Regions from separate parts of the Homo sapiens genome. Here region 2 is linked to region 1. Evidence: promoter capture Hi-C in human tissues and cell types (Jung and others, 2019). All regions are on one chromosome and are shown on one strand. Each heading gives the region's core, a stretch centred on a gene start or on the middle of the fragment in contact. The rest is flanking DNA. Distances are from core to core; before and after follow the strand shown. Region 1 holds the start of CRY2 (cryptochrome circadian regulator 2). Region 2 overlaps PRDM11 (PR/SET domain 11).

Region 1 (6,614 bases), core at 1,726-4,225:
CTACTCAGGAGGCTGAGGCAGGAGGATCCCTTGAGCCCAGGAGTTTGAAAATGTATTGAACTAGGGTCACAGCACTGCACTCCAGCTTGGGTGACAGAACAAGACCCTGTCTCAAAAAAAAAAAAAAAAAAAAAAAGAACAGGCTGGACACGGTCGGTGGCTCACACCTGTAATCCCAGCACTTTGAGAGGCCAAGGCAGGTGGATTGCCTGAGGTCAGGAGTTCAAGACCAGCCTGATCAATATGGTGAAACCCTGACTCTACTAAAAATACAAAAATTAGCCCAGCGTGGTGGCTGCCACCTATACTCCCAGCTACTTGGGAGGCTGATGCACGAGAATTGCTTGAGCCCAGGAGGCAGAGGTTGCAGTGAGCTGAGATCACGCCACTGCACTCCAGCCTGGGTGACAGAGCAAGACTCCATCTCAAATTAAAAAAAAAAAAACAAACAAAAAAAAAAAAAAAAACACAACCCAGGGAGCACTGAACCTCTGCTTTGATTAAAGTTTTAAAACTTAAATGTTTGTGGACAAAGTCTAGAAGGCAACATGAAGATAAGAAATAATTGATTTGTTAGGTTTTGGGAACTGAGGTTGATTACTTGTTTTTTCATTATTGGCAAAATTTCAAGGACTTTAAAAAAATAAGTAAAATATTTTATGTAGTCAGCAACTTATGGAGCCCACATTACATGTAAGACCCAGGGCTGAGCATTACAAGGAAGACAAAACCAGACACAGGTCCTGCTGTTCAGAATAACAGTAGCTGACACAGTACAAATGCTTACTATATCCTAAGTGCTATTATCACCCTATTGCAAAGATTAAGAAAGTGAGGAACAGAGAGGTTAACTAGCTTATCCAAGGTCACAGAGAATAAAAGCAGAACTAGAATTTGAACTCAGCAACTCCAATGTGCAAAGCCTCAGGTTTAACCATTACATCACACTGCCTCTCATGATAGCTTAATAAGAGAGCGAGGGGAGGGGAGGGAAGTGACTTTTGATCATTCAACAAATGTTTTTTGAGCACCTACTATATGTTAGGTACCAGAGTACCAGCTGAGAAGACACTGAAAAGTAAGACAAGCACAGTCCCTGCCTCACAGGGTTCACGGAATACAGATATAGCATTATGGGAATTTAGAGGAGAAAAAGGGAAGAGGACCCATCTCTGAGGTTAAGGGAGAACCACCTCCTTACACTCTGTTTCATTCCTAGCAAAGCACCAACCTTGTGGAGAGAAGAGGGCATAGGAGAGGGGGAACACAAAACCTTAAAATAAAAGTAATGAAAGATTGCATCGATTTATTCAGCAAGAATTTGGAAAGGAAATTCAAAAATAAGGAAAGGGTCAGGTAAGCGGACTAGGATAAACCTTTAAGAGCCTGCCAATATGAGACTCTAGTTCAATTTTTACTCAAATAATCCTTGAGCGTTAGGTGCCAAGCCCTGAGCTAGACTTCAGACATACAACTGTATGTAAATAAGCCACAGCCCCTGCTCTCCAGGAGTTTATACTCTAATGGGGCAGAAAGACTTTTAAGCAAGAAATTTCAGTATTGTGTGCCAAGACAAGTGACCAAAAAGAAGCACAGAATAAGATGGGGCACTATTCAGGTTGGGATCAGACAGCAAGAAGGTGACATCTATACTGAACAATGATACAGAGCAAACTGGAGTTAGAAACAAAGATGGAAGAGGGAGTGTGATCTAGACTGCTGGAACAGCTCGTGAAAAGCCCTGGAAATGACAGAGAATGCCTAGGATTGCAGTGACACTGGTTTAGAGAGTGGTGCCAATTAATGCCACTAAATTGCAGACTAAATTACTAAATGCTTTCATCACTCTGTCCCAGGTCCAGGAAGGGTTCCAAGCATGGGCTCAACCTAGGGTCAAGTTGAAACAGACTGTTTTCCACCTGATAACCCCAAAGCTGCAGCTTGACTAAGCCGTCTTAGCCCAAGAGGGTTCCACCTGGCGTCCCAGAAGAATGGGGACAGTGTCCTCCACATCTCTGAACCCTACCCGGAATCCAGTACAGTGCTTTGCACACACTGGATCTACTAAACAGACTAAAAGAAAATAAATTCATCTGATGGCATAATTACTATCTCAATTCAAGTCCCCCACATTCCCAGTCCTTACTCCCAAATCCTCTACTGCTGCATATTAGGGCACTCCTTCCCCGTCCTTAGACTCTGCCACTTGGAATTACCAAGGATCTTCGCACAAAGAGAAGTATAGCTTCGTGGATAAAAGCAGAAATTTCGAAATCAGAATAATCTGGGTGAAATCCTCTTAGCAGCTTTATGATATTGAATAAGTCACTCAACCTGCGGCACCCTCCGTTTTCTTCATCTGTGAAACGAAAACAACAGCAGCTTTTTCACTGGGGTTCGCTAAATGAATGTAACTGGGCTGAGTTGAGAATAGTAAATGAGACCGTCTACGTAAGGAGATGATCATGTCTCTTGCCATATAAAGTGCACTTAATAAATGGCAGCTGTAGTAGAATGATGTAGATGGTGATGGTGACGATGTTGGTGATAATAGGAAGGTCAGCTGTCAGTCTTGCAAGTCACTGGCTGTAGTCACAGCAACCCCTACCAGCCCAGGCAGCTTCTTCTAGAAGCAGGCCCTGAACAGGACGTGGGTAAGAGATCCGCTGTCCCTTGAGACTTGGCCTACTCCCGGCACTCCGCGGACAGCCCCAGCCTGCGGACAGCCCCAGCCTGCGTCACTTGTCCGCATGCCAGCTCCACCCGGGCGGACCCACACATGGTAGGAACGTGAGGGGGCGGGCCTGTTCCGGCGCCTCTGGGCCAATCGCCAGGTGGAAGGCACTCAGCCAATGGCAGAGGGGCTCTGGGGCCCTGTGGGCGGGGACTAAGGGTGGAGTTGCGGCGTCATAGGTCACTGGGCGGGCTATGGGCGGGGTCCACGTCGCCTACCGGGGCGGAGCGGGGGTGGCTGGAGCAGTCTGGACAGTCATGGCGGCGACTGTGGCGACGGCGGCAGCTGTGGCCCCGGCGCCAGCGCCCGGCACGGACAGCGCCTCTTCGGTGCACTGGTTCCGCAAAGGGCTGCGACTCCACGACAACCCGGCGTTGCTGGCGGCCGTGCGCGGGGCGCGCTGCGTGCGCTGCGTTTACATTCTCGACCCGTGGTTCGCGGCCTCCTCCTCAGTCGGGATCAACCGATGGAGGTGAGGGGACCCGGGGCTGGGTGGCGGGGACGCAGCCAGGACCCTGACCCTGGGGTGACCGGCGAACAGCACGATCCCCCCAACCCCGCCACGGCTGGAAGGCCAGAGGGGAGAAGCCGAGACCGGGGAAGTAATTCGTCATGGTCCTAACGCGCCGGTGGGCCAGGGTTCAGCCTCTGACAAAGCGCGTTCGCACTGTTACCCCTTTGAGCCTCACAACTGCCTGTGGAACGGAGATCATGATCCCCGTTGTACAGATGAGACCCTTGAGCCCTGGAGACCCAAAGTCGACCTGCCCAAGGACTTGTAGCCAGTGAGTGGCAGAACAGGGGCTCCTGGTCTAGGGCTCTTACGGTCTACTCAGGGAGGGGCGGAAGGGAGATAACGTAGTGTGAGGGCGGGACGGGTTTTTGCTCGCATTCTTCAAGAGCCCGTTGCTGGGCTCGGGGAGATCACTCCGAAGCCTCTGGCTCGTTTGAATCCGCCCTACCACCCATCCTGGCTACCCTGCACCCAGACCGTCCTGCCTCTAGGGGTGTCAAGTGACCCTGGCTTAGCATTAAATAAGGTCTTCTCCCCTATATTATAAATAAAGAAGCCAAAGGCGTCTTCAGGTGGAGTCGCTTTATGTTCAAAGCTCCAGAGAATCCAGGGGATTCTCCAAAATGTTTTAAGCCCTGCTCTGGAGCTTTGACCTCGATAGAAAAATTTAAAAGAATCCAAAGTGTCACCCCGTCATCCTCTTGTCATGATTTTAGAGGACAGTAGAGCCATTAGAGATGAGACTTTTATGAACTGTTGTGGTAAGGTTAGGGAGCAGGAAAGCCATGATATCAAGGGCCCCTCTGATGACCCCCCAGGAGATGGAGTCGACATGATCATGGAAAAAGATGAACAGGTCGTTAGTGTATTTTCACTGTAAACAGTATTCAAACTAAAGAGTTTTGAGACATAATGTACCCATCGCTCTTCAGAACACCTAGTGGCAGTCGCTCGGTTTGTTTGCATTGTTCTGGGGAATGTTTGCTTGTGGCCTTGTTGCATCGATGGACAGGGTTATTTCCAGGATACCGTGGCTCTCGGCACACCATTCTTTTCTCTCCAAGGTGTGTGCCCTGCTAAGAGAGTGAGTGCTGCTAGCAGTGGGCCTGTTCAGTGTCCCCTCCTGCCCAGAAGGAACAACTAAGGAGTCCTGTGGAGAGCCTGCCCACAGTTTTCAGGCTGCCTTATTGCTCTGTCTCTGCTCCAGTTTTCTACAGATAGGAGGTTGGGTTTGACAAGCATCATCAAATGACCATCCCTAGTGTGCACATTAAGCCAAGCCTCAGACTTTGCCCTGCACCAGTCGGAGCCAGGCAAATGGAATCCGACTACCTTCTTGTTACATTGTCACAGAGTTTCTTCTTTTATTGGGTTTTGGGGGACATTGCATAGTACTGCCTACTCTTTTTTGATAGGGAAGATTAAAAATCAACAATAAAATTCCTGTTGATTAAACTCCAGTTTGCTAGGAACCAGGTGTTTATGGATTTTTGTGGGTCATCATTTTGTGATCGTGCTATCAATCTAGTGAAGAAGAAAAGGAATGTGGCTCAGATGCCTGAGTCAAATCCTGAAGTCAGAGGCTGTGTAAGAATGCAGATATTAATTGATCACTTAATAAGTGCCTAATATCTGCCAGGTACTGCTCTAGATGTTGCTAGGGATACAGCAGTGAATAAGCAGATGTGTCTGTGCTCCAGAACTCCTGGAGCCTACATTTTACCAACAAACAACCATAATTTAGTGAAACGAAGTGCCATGAGAAACATAAGATAAGGGGACAGACTAGAGCAGTGGTTCTCAATCTTGGCTGCTGTGCATTGGAATCCCATAAGGGTCTTTAAAAGATACCTGGGCCCCTTTCCCCCAATTCTATTTTTTTTTTTTTTTGAGACGGAGTTTTGTTCTTGTTGCCCAGGCTAGAGTACAATGGCGCAGTCTGGACTCACTGCAACCTCCACCTCCCGGGTTCAAGCAATTCTCCTGCCTCAGTCTCCCAAGTAGCCAGGATTACAGGTGGCCATCGCCACACCTGGCTAATTATTTTGTATTTTTAGTAGAGACAGGGTTTCACCATGTTGGCTAGGCTGGTCTCAAACTCCTGACCTCAGGTGATCTGCCCACCTTGGTCTCCCAAACTGCTGGGATTACAGGGCATGAGCCACTGTGCCCAGCCCCTTTCTCCCAGTTCTGTTAGAATTGTTCTGGGTTATGGCCTGGGCATTAAGGTTTGGGGATTTTTTGTTTTGTTTTGTTTTTTGTTTTTTTTTTTTTTTGAGACGGGGTCCTGCTCAAGTGACAACCCAAGCTGAAATGCAGTGGCATGATCATAGCTCACTGCAGCCTTGACCTCCTGGGCTCAGCGATCCTCCTGCCTTAGCCTCCCAAGTAGCTGGGACTGCAGGCATGCACCACCATGCCTGGCTAATTTTTGTATTTTTTGTAGAGATGGGGTTTCACCATGTTCTCCAGGCTGGTCTTGAACTCATGGGCTTAAGCAATCACCTGCGTCAACCTCCCGAAGTGCTGTGATTGCAAGTATGAGCCACTGTGCCCGGCCTTGGGCATTAAGGTTTTTAAAGCTCTTATTGCAGCAAAGCTTAAGAAGCACTGGACTAGAGAACCTCAGTCCTGAGACGGGCAACCTAGGAAGTATGTTGCAGTGCATTGGCAGGAAGTCTAATTAATGTTGGCATTCAGAAGAAAGAGATGAAGTAACACAAACAGATTGAATATAATAACTGCTCCTGGGCCTGGAAACAGACACACTCCTACCACCTCCACCATTCTGCTTGCTTCCTGGATCAGTTGAAGGCAGAGCTGCATTCTCTTTTGTGCACAAAGTTGGGGATAGAGGGGAGGGCTGGAGCCAGCCATATCTTGACATGACTGTAGTATGTGTAATCGTCCCGTGGTTGTTTCTGGATTCCAAGAGTGGTCTAAGAGAATTGTGCTGCAGCATAATGTCCTAGCTCTGCAACTGCTTAAGTTGTCTCTGAGAAGCCTCCCTGGGAAGGGCAAGGGACCATCTGCAAGGAGGGGAGGACCCAAAATCTGTGACTCTGTTTCCCTCCTGCTCCTTCTACACTGACTCCCACACAATGTTTTTCTGCAGAGGAAATCAGATTAAAATAACTATGAATGGCACTAAGAGTAAAAACGGACAGAGAAATGCAACCAAGAAATACACATATTGATTAGCAAGAAGAAGCCTAGCATACTTCTTGCCCTGGTGATGGTGGGAAGTTTACGGGCTAATTGTAGCTATATGAGCCTCAGGACTTTTTTTTTTTTTTTCCAAGTGCTACTTGGCTAAGCCCTTTCACATTTTCCCCAGCCTCACCTTCCCCAGATTTGCTACATCTA
Region 2 (6,614 bases), core at 2,020-4,519, 690 kb before region 1:
TGCAACCCACCCCAACACCCTCTCTCTGCTTCCTGCTTTTTTCTTTTTAGTGCATAGCACTTATCCCATGCCCCATGTTTTACTTTTTTATTTTGTTTTCTGTCTGCCTCCCATCATTTTAATGCAAGTTCCCAGAGAGCTGGGTTTTTTGTTACTTTTGTTCACTGCTGTATGAATAGTATATGCCATATGGTAACTAGAGCCTCAAATACTTGTGGAATGAGTGAATTAATTGAGCACTTACTGTGTTCAAAGTGCTTTATCTGCTTTGTCTTTTTAAATCTTCACAGCGATGCCCTGATCATGGTATTGTTATTTCCCCATTCTACAGTTTAGGAAACTGAGACTCAGAGAGGTAGCATCACTTGCCCACAGTTTCACAGTTGGTGATGAAATTCAAACTCAGGGCACCTGATTCCTGAGCCCTCCGGCCTAACCCGGATACTTGGCCTTGACTAGGCTGTAACAGGTCCTGACTGCTGTGCTGAGGAGTTTACAATCTGTCTGTTGGGCCACAGGGAGCCTCAGAGGGTTTTATGAGGAGGAAGCTGACATGGTGATCAGATCCATGTTCCGAAAAACAGCAGTGGCTTGGGCATAAGGCTGGAGGCAGGGAGGCCAAATAAGAGGCTTTCGTAGTAATTGAGGTAGGAGAGGATGAAGGTGAGAGCTGAGAGTGACCATTCCCAGGGAAAAGTAGGGGAATTTGGCCCTCTACAGCGAAGGTCAGAGCAGATGGGTTGGGGCTTGGTTCTGGAGGCCAGTTGTTTCCCCGAGTGTGCCTGACTTCTGCTTCTGAGTAGCGAGGGGACCCGCAGATAAAATCCAGCAAAGTGCCTTAGGCTGGTCCCTTGGCAGGGAAAGGGAACTGAGAAGGAGCCAGGGAGCCAGCTGGTGGGGTCCACACTGTTCCCTGGAGAGGGCGTGGGCCCCAGGTTCAGTCCTGCTTCTGGCACCAGATAGCGGTGAGATCTGAGCAGGAGGCTGTCCCTCTTGGAGTTACCCATTTTCTCATCTGCAGAACGGGGGCAATGCCACTACTGGCCTCCAAGGGCTGCATGGACAGCTCCGGAGAAAGACGGAGCACCAGTGAATGGCTTAGGGCCAGTCTTGGGCCATCTCCTGGGTGTGAGGCCAGTGGACATGGGGGAGGCATGGGGGTCCTCTCATGCCTCTTGCTGGCGATGGGACAGCAGTGCCTGAATACAAGACAATGAGCATATCTGCACTTAAAGGTGATCTGGCCACAGCCTCAGACACTCATGGTGCCCCACTGTCTTGTGTTCAAGGCCAAATATTTAACTGCGCCTCAGTTTCCTTTCTGTAAATGGACTCAGTAATATCAGTCCTGCCCTACATTCTGTGGAAGATTTTTTCCTCTGTGTTTGCAGGACTGAGTTTAAGGTGCTGTTATCTCTGGGGCAGTAAACACCTAGAAGGAACATGTATGGAGCACCAGGACACTGACAACAGCCCCGTGAGGTTACTCCCGCATCCACATATGGATGAGGAACCTTGGGGCTCAGAGAGGTTACATGACCAACTGAAGATCACACAGCTATCATCTCATTTTTCCAATCTTCTTAAGAAAACCACATTGATAAAGGAAGTCTTTGAGGTTGCCTATTTGTATTACATAATAATTCCCAGAAGGTTTCTTGGGTGATTTAAAAATAGGATTTGGGCTGGGCACAGTGGCTCATGCCTATAATCCCAGCACTTTGGGAGGCTGAGGTGGGAGGATCGCTTGAGTCCAGGAGTTTGAGACCAGCCTGGGCAACATAGTGAGACCCTGTATTTACAAAAAATGAACAAAATTACCTGGGCTTGGTGATGTGTGCCTGTAGTCCCAGCAACTTGGGAGGCTGAGGCGGGAAGATCACTGGACCCTGGGAGATCGAGGCTGTGATGAGCTGAGATCGCACCACTGTACTCCTGCCTGGGAGACAGAGTGAGACCCTGTCTCAAAAAATAATAAATCAATAAAAGTAGGATTTGATTTATAGAGTGTTGGTTTCAGACCTTCTCCCCATCCCAGGAACCTCACAGGTCAGAAGTTGCGGACACATTCAAACAGACCCGGAGCCTCCGCTGAAATGATACTGGGTACGGGAAGTGGAGTAGGGGTGGGGGCAGATAGCTGCTGCCCATCCTGCTCCCAAGCAGCAGCCTTAGATCAGGGGTTGGTGCTAGTGGTAGGGGGGTCCCTGCTTGCAAAGTGAGGCACCCCAGGCCTCTGGAGCCTTCAGTGCCTTCTAGAGCTTTCCCTTCCAGTCCTGTCTCCCCTACCTCATCCGATCCATAAGAGCAACCAGAACTCTCCTCCTCCCAACTGCACCTTCTCCCGATCCCTGATCACTAGCCCAGGCAGGTTGGCTCTTAAAACCCCCATTTTATAGCTCAGAAAACTGAGGCTCAGAGAGGGGAAGTGACTTAGAGCTCATACAGTTTAGGAAGTAACCAAGCTAACATTCTAACCCCAAATCTAGCACCCCTTCCTCTGCACCCCAGTCCTTCTGGAATCAGAGCAGAATGGGGACCCCAGAGAGTGTTGTTGTAGCCTCTGTACCCTGCTTCCCAAACAGAGAGATTGTCCAGCTACTGCAGGGAGTGTGGCTGGAAGGAGCTTGGGGTAGAAAGGGGGGTAGTGGCCGGTGGGCGCCTTCCCCCAGGCTTGTGTCAGAGTTGAGGGCGAGAGTGGGCCCAGCAGGCAGGAGGATCACTTTGACTAGGGCACTGAGCTGGGCTGGTATGGACGTCACTGAGCAAGTAAATATGGAACCGCCCCCACAATGTCAGCTTTCCCGGAGTGGCTTCTCCCACTATCTCTCACTTTCCCCAAGGGAAAGGGGTGAGGGCCAGGAAAGGATCTGGCTGCCCGATGCCAGGGGATGGAGATGGCCGGCTTGGGAGGCTCCACGATGGCCAAGGGGCATGGGGAGGAGCCCACCAGACCCTCAGCCCCAGAAGGAAGTGAGCTTCTCTTGGGAGCAGCCAACTGGGACCCAGCCAGGGCGGACTCAGCACCGTCATGGCCCAAGGTACAGAGAGGGCGGGCTCTGGGGGTTGCCGGGAGGTGGTTGGCTGGGGCTTGTCCCTGACCTCACAGCCCTTTACTGTTCCAACCCAAACAGAGTGTCATTTTCCCAGGGGCCAGGGGTGCCCCTCTTTAGGCCGGCTGTGTTCCAAGAGAAAGAAAGACCAGCCAGAGGGGGTTTGCATTTGGAGAGGGGGTGCAGGGGTGCCTCAAGGAGGGGTGGAGAGGGAGGAAGGAAAAGCCCCTTAGCCTGAGGGAGGCAGAGGGCAGGGAGGTGAAGTCCTCAAGGGAAATCAGCAAGCTTAGCAGCCAGGGAAACCGGCAGTCTCTCTTGACCCCAGAGAGGAGATATTGGGTCTCCAGAAGAGCAAGCAGAAAAGGAGGATCCAGGGCAGAGTGTCTGGCTGCCAGACCCTGGGCCTTTTATAAACATCAGCGACAGCCGAGCCCAAATGAGTGTGGACGGGCATGTTCCATTCAACCCTCATAGCTGTCCCATGATGCTAGTGTTATTAGGTGCAGTTTACAGAGGTAACATTGAGGCCCAGAGAAGTGAGGTGACTCACCTAAGGTCACACAGCTATGAAAGGCTGAGCCAGGATATGAACCTAGGTCTGTCTGATTCCAGAGTCTGAGCTCTTTATCACAGCATGGGACTGGCTTGCTGGGACTGCAGTGGGAGATAAGGTCAGCCATCCATGCTGGGCAGGAGTTTGGATGGCTAACTTACAGATTCCAAGTTCCTTCCCCTGAGATGATGGGCAGTGTAAAGAAAGTACAGCATATGAGCCACTGTGGCTCAGGCAGGTCACCCTCTCTGTGCCTTTATGCGGCCACTTGAAGAATGGGGATGCCTAGCATAAGGACCGGCCATGTTACAGCATTTTCAAACCTTCCCATCCATTGTCTGGGTCAGCAGATGTTCATGGAGCGGCCCCTTGTGCTCTGGGGTCCAGACGTACACACCTGACTCTTGATGGGCCCTGCACCAGGTTCCTCTTGGAACACTGGGAGCACAGTGGCTCTGCCAGGCAATGGAGACCGTGGTCCGCAGACCTCTGCCCATCCTGAGCTGTGCTGGATGGGTGTATGGTGAGAGACATGCAGACTTTGAGAGAAAGCCTTGAGAAACTTGTTTGGCAACTTGACATTGCCACATCATTTTTAATTTTATTTCACAAAAATATCTGTTGGCATCAGATTGGAAAACTTAAAAAGTAAAGAAGTCACTTCACCTCAAATTTCTTGAGCAGCTCTTGCCTGGGTCTTGGGATTGAAGGTAGGATGCGCCTGGCTTGCTCATGGATATGGGGCAGAGGAGAGCAAGTCATTTCGCCCTGGAGGTGGAGAGGGAGGATCTGGTTAGGCCTCCCAGAGGAGGTGACGATGAGCTGGACCTTGAGGGAGGAGCGGGGGTTTGCCAGGCGGAGGGAGAGGGAAGGGCATTTTAGGCACTGGGAACAGTATGTGCAAAGGCAGGAACAGGAGGACCCCATGGTTCAGGAATGGCAAGCGGTCATGGGTGTTTAGAGAAGCAGTGGAGTTGGCTGGGGAGAGGCAGGTGAGGGCCAGGCCGGGAGGGCCTTGAATGCTGTGTGAAGGAATTGAGACTTTGCCCTGGAGGCACGGGGGAGCTGTCGGTGGTTTGTAAGCAGGGGAGAGAAGTAGTTAGCTTTGCGCCACAGAAACTCTGTCCAGGTGGCAGTGGACTTGAGGTGGCCATGGCTGAGTAGGTGGCTTAGAGCAGTGGTCTCCAACCTTTGGGGCACAAGGGACCATTTCATGAAGGACAATTTTTCCATGGACGGGGTCGGGGAGGATGGTTTGGGGATGAAACTATTCCACTTCAGATCATCAACTGTTCCACCTCGGATCATCAGGCATTCGTTCAATTCTCAAAGGAGCACACTCCTAGAGCCCTCGCATGCGCAGTTCACGGTAGGGTTCGCGTCCTATGATAATCTAGTGCTGCCTGTGATCTGACAGGAGGCAGAGCTCAGGCGTTAATGCTTGCTAGCTCGCCTGCCACTCGTCTCCTGCTCTGCAACCTGGTTCCTAACAGGTTATGGATCAGTACCCATCCGTGGTCCAGGGGTTGGGGACCTACGCCTTAGAGGACCAAAGAGGCCATCCAGGTGTATGCTTCCTTTCCACCGCCAACCTCCCAGAAGGCTGTTCCTCGATTGTGTCTTGTGGAGTAGGTTGCTGATGCACAGGCCTCTCTTTGTCCCCTGAGTCGGTCCTGGCTGATGGGCAGGCAGCCCTCGGGTGTGAGCAGCATGGCCTTTCCAGGCTGGCCTGGTTGGTGGGGTCACACCTGGGGTCATGGGCTGGCCATGGCAGAACTCTCTTGTCCACACTGCCTGCCCTACTAGAGCTGCAGGAACGTGGACTGGTGGGCTGTCAAATGGGTGCTGGGTACAGTTTGGGGTACAGTCCAGAGCCGTGTTCAGGGAAAGCTGTCAGAAGGGAGGGCTGAAGTTTGAGCTGAGGTTGGGCCATTGCCCAGGCCCTGGGTACCTGGTCTCTGATGGCATGGGGTCTGTGCAGGAGGTGAGCAGTGGGCAGCAGGCTGAAGTGGCTTCCTGCATGGATCCTCTGATGGGCCAGGGCTGAGACCTGCCTCTGTGGCCTGAGGAGCAAACATCTGGTTGAGGTAGCGAGGGAAAAGTTAAAGTCATTCCCAACCCAGCCCAGTTCAAAGCAGACAGTGCAGTGTCAGGGAGTCGCTGGTCTTCAACTCTGTCACAGCCTCCTGTCCCTAGAGTAACTGACCTGCCCTGTCCCAGGGCTGCTGGGAACAGACCAAGGTGTGCCTGGGCCTGCATGTGGCCACAAGCCCACGGAGGCCCTGCCTGGGAAGGAACTGTTGGAAGCGCCTCTCCTGCCTGCCCCACCTCCACCCTCCTCTGGGGCCCCAGTTCAGGGTGGCCCAGCCCCTGCCTCCCTCCCTGCAGCTCCCAGACAGGCTGGGCCCCAGCAGCAGGCCGGGCTGTCTGGCTGCTGTTCAACAGGGAGTCCAGCTGCCTGGGGTCCTACAGAACGGGGCTGGGCAGGCATTCTTCTCTGTCCAGGCTCTGGCTTCAGGGCCAGGAAGGCAGGAGTTGTTGAGGTGCCTTAGTTTTAACAGTGGTCTTGGTCATGTGTGGAGGCTCAGGATTAGAGTCCTCACCCTGTCTGCTGTACCCGACTTGGTTGGTCCCACACTGAACTCATGACTTGCCATAGAGCGAGGGCCTCCCTGACGGGAGCTGGGGAGCAGGCCCTGGGACAGCTGAGCCTAACTCAGGCTTCGTCTTTCTGCTCCACCCTTCCCCAAAGCTGATCCTTTCACTGTGCAGGCCTGCTGAGACCTCCTTGCTTCTCGGTGCCCCCCCTTCTCTAAGGACAGACACCCTGAGCCTGTTGTGCATGGCTTCTGCCACTTCTCAGCAAGACCTCCTAATCAAATCCTCCAAGGTTGTCCGTGTCCGGGTCCAGGGGCACAGTCTGGCCCCTTTGCTCATCGCAGCCTGTCTTGGCTTCTCCCGGGGACTGTGCTCCGCCCTCCCTCTCCTTGAGCCCCCCCTTCCTAGTT

The links. The method cuts DNA at HindIII sites, captures the fragments that hold promoters and counts their contacts. A contact is called where the count stands out against the background at its distance.
Region 2: a contact is called between a fragment that was not itself captured here and the fragment with the promoter of CRY2 in region 1, in 1 of the 25 tissues and cell types used here (dorsolateral prefrontal cortex).

Annotation. Positions count from the first base shown.
Region 1 is chr11:45,844,500-45,851,113 of GRCh38, forward strand. It overlaps CRY2 (cryptochrome circadian regulator 2), which reads left to right and starts at 2,976. Exons shown (of 12, transcript NM_021117.5): 1 at 2,976-3,206. The coding sequence starts at 2,992. RefSeq lists enhancers at 2,427-2,536, 2,587-2,636, 2,997-3,236, 3,167-3,688 and a silencer at 3,637-3,746. The HindIII fragment of the contact is 4,522 bases long and covers 2,247-6,614 here.
Region 2 is chr11:45,152,390-45,159,003 of GRCh38, forward strand. All of the region lies in intron 1 of PRDM11 (PR/SET domain 11), which reads left to right. Among named protein-coding and RNA genes, the nearest start is that of PRDM11, 9.1 kb to the left of the region's middle. The HindIII fragment of the contact is 3,876 bases long and covers 1,332-5,207 here.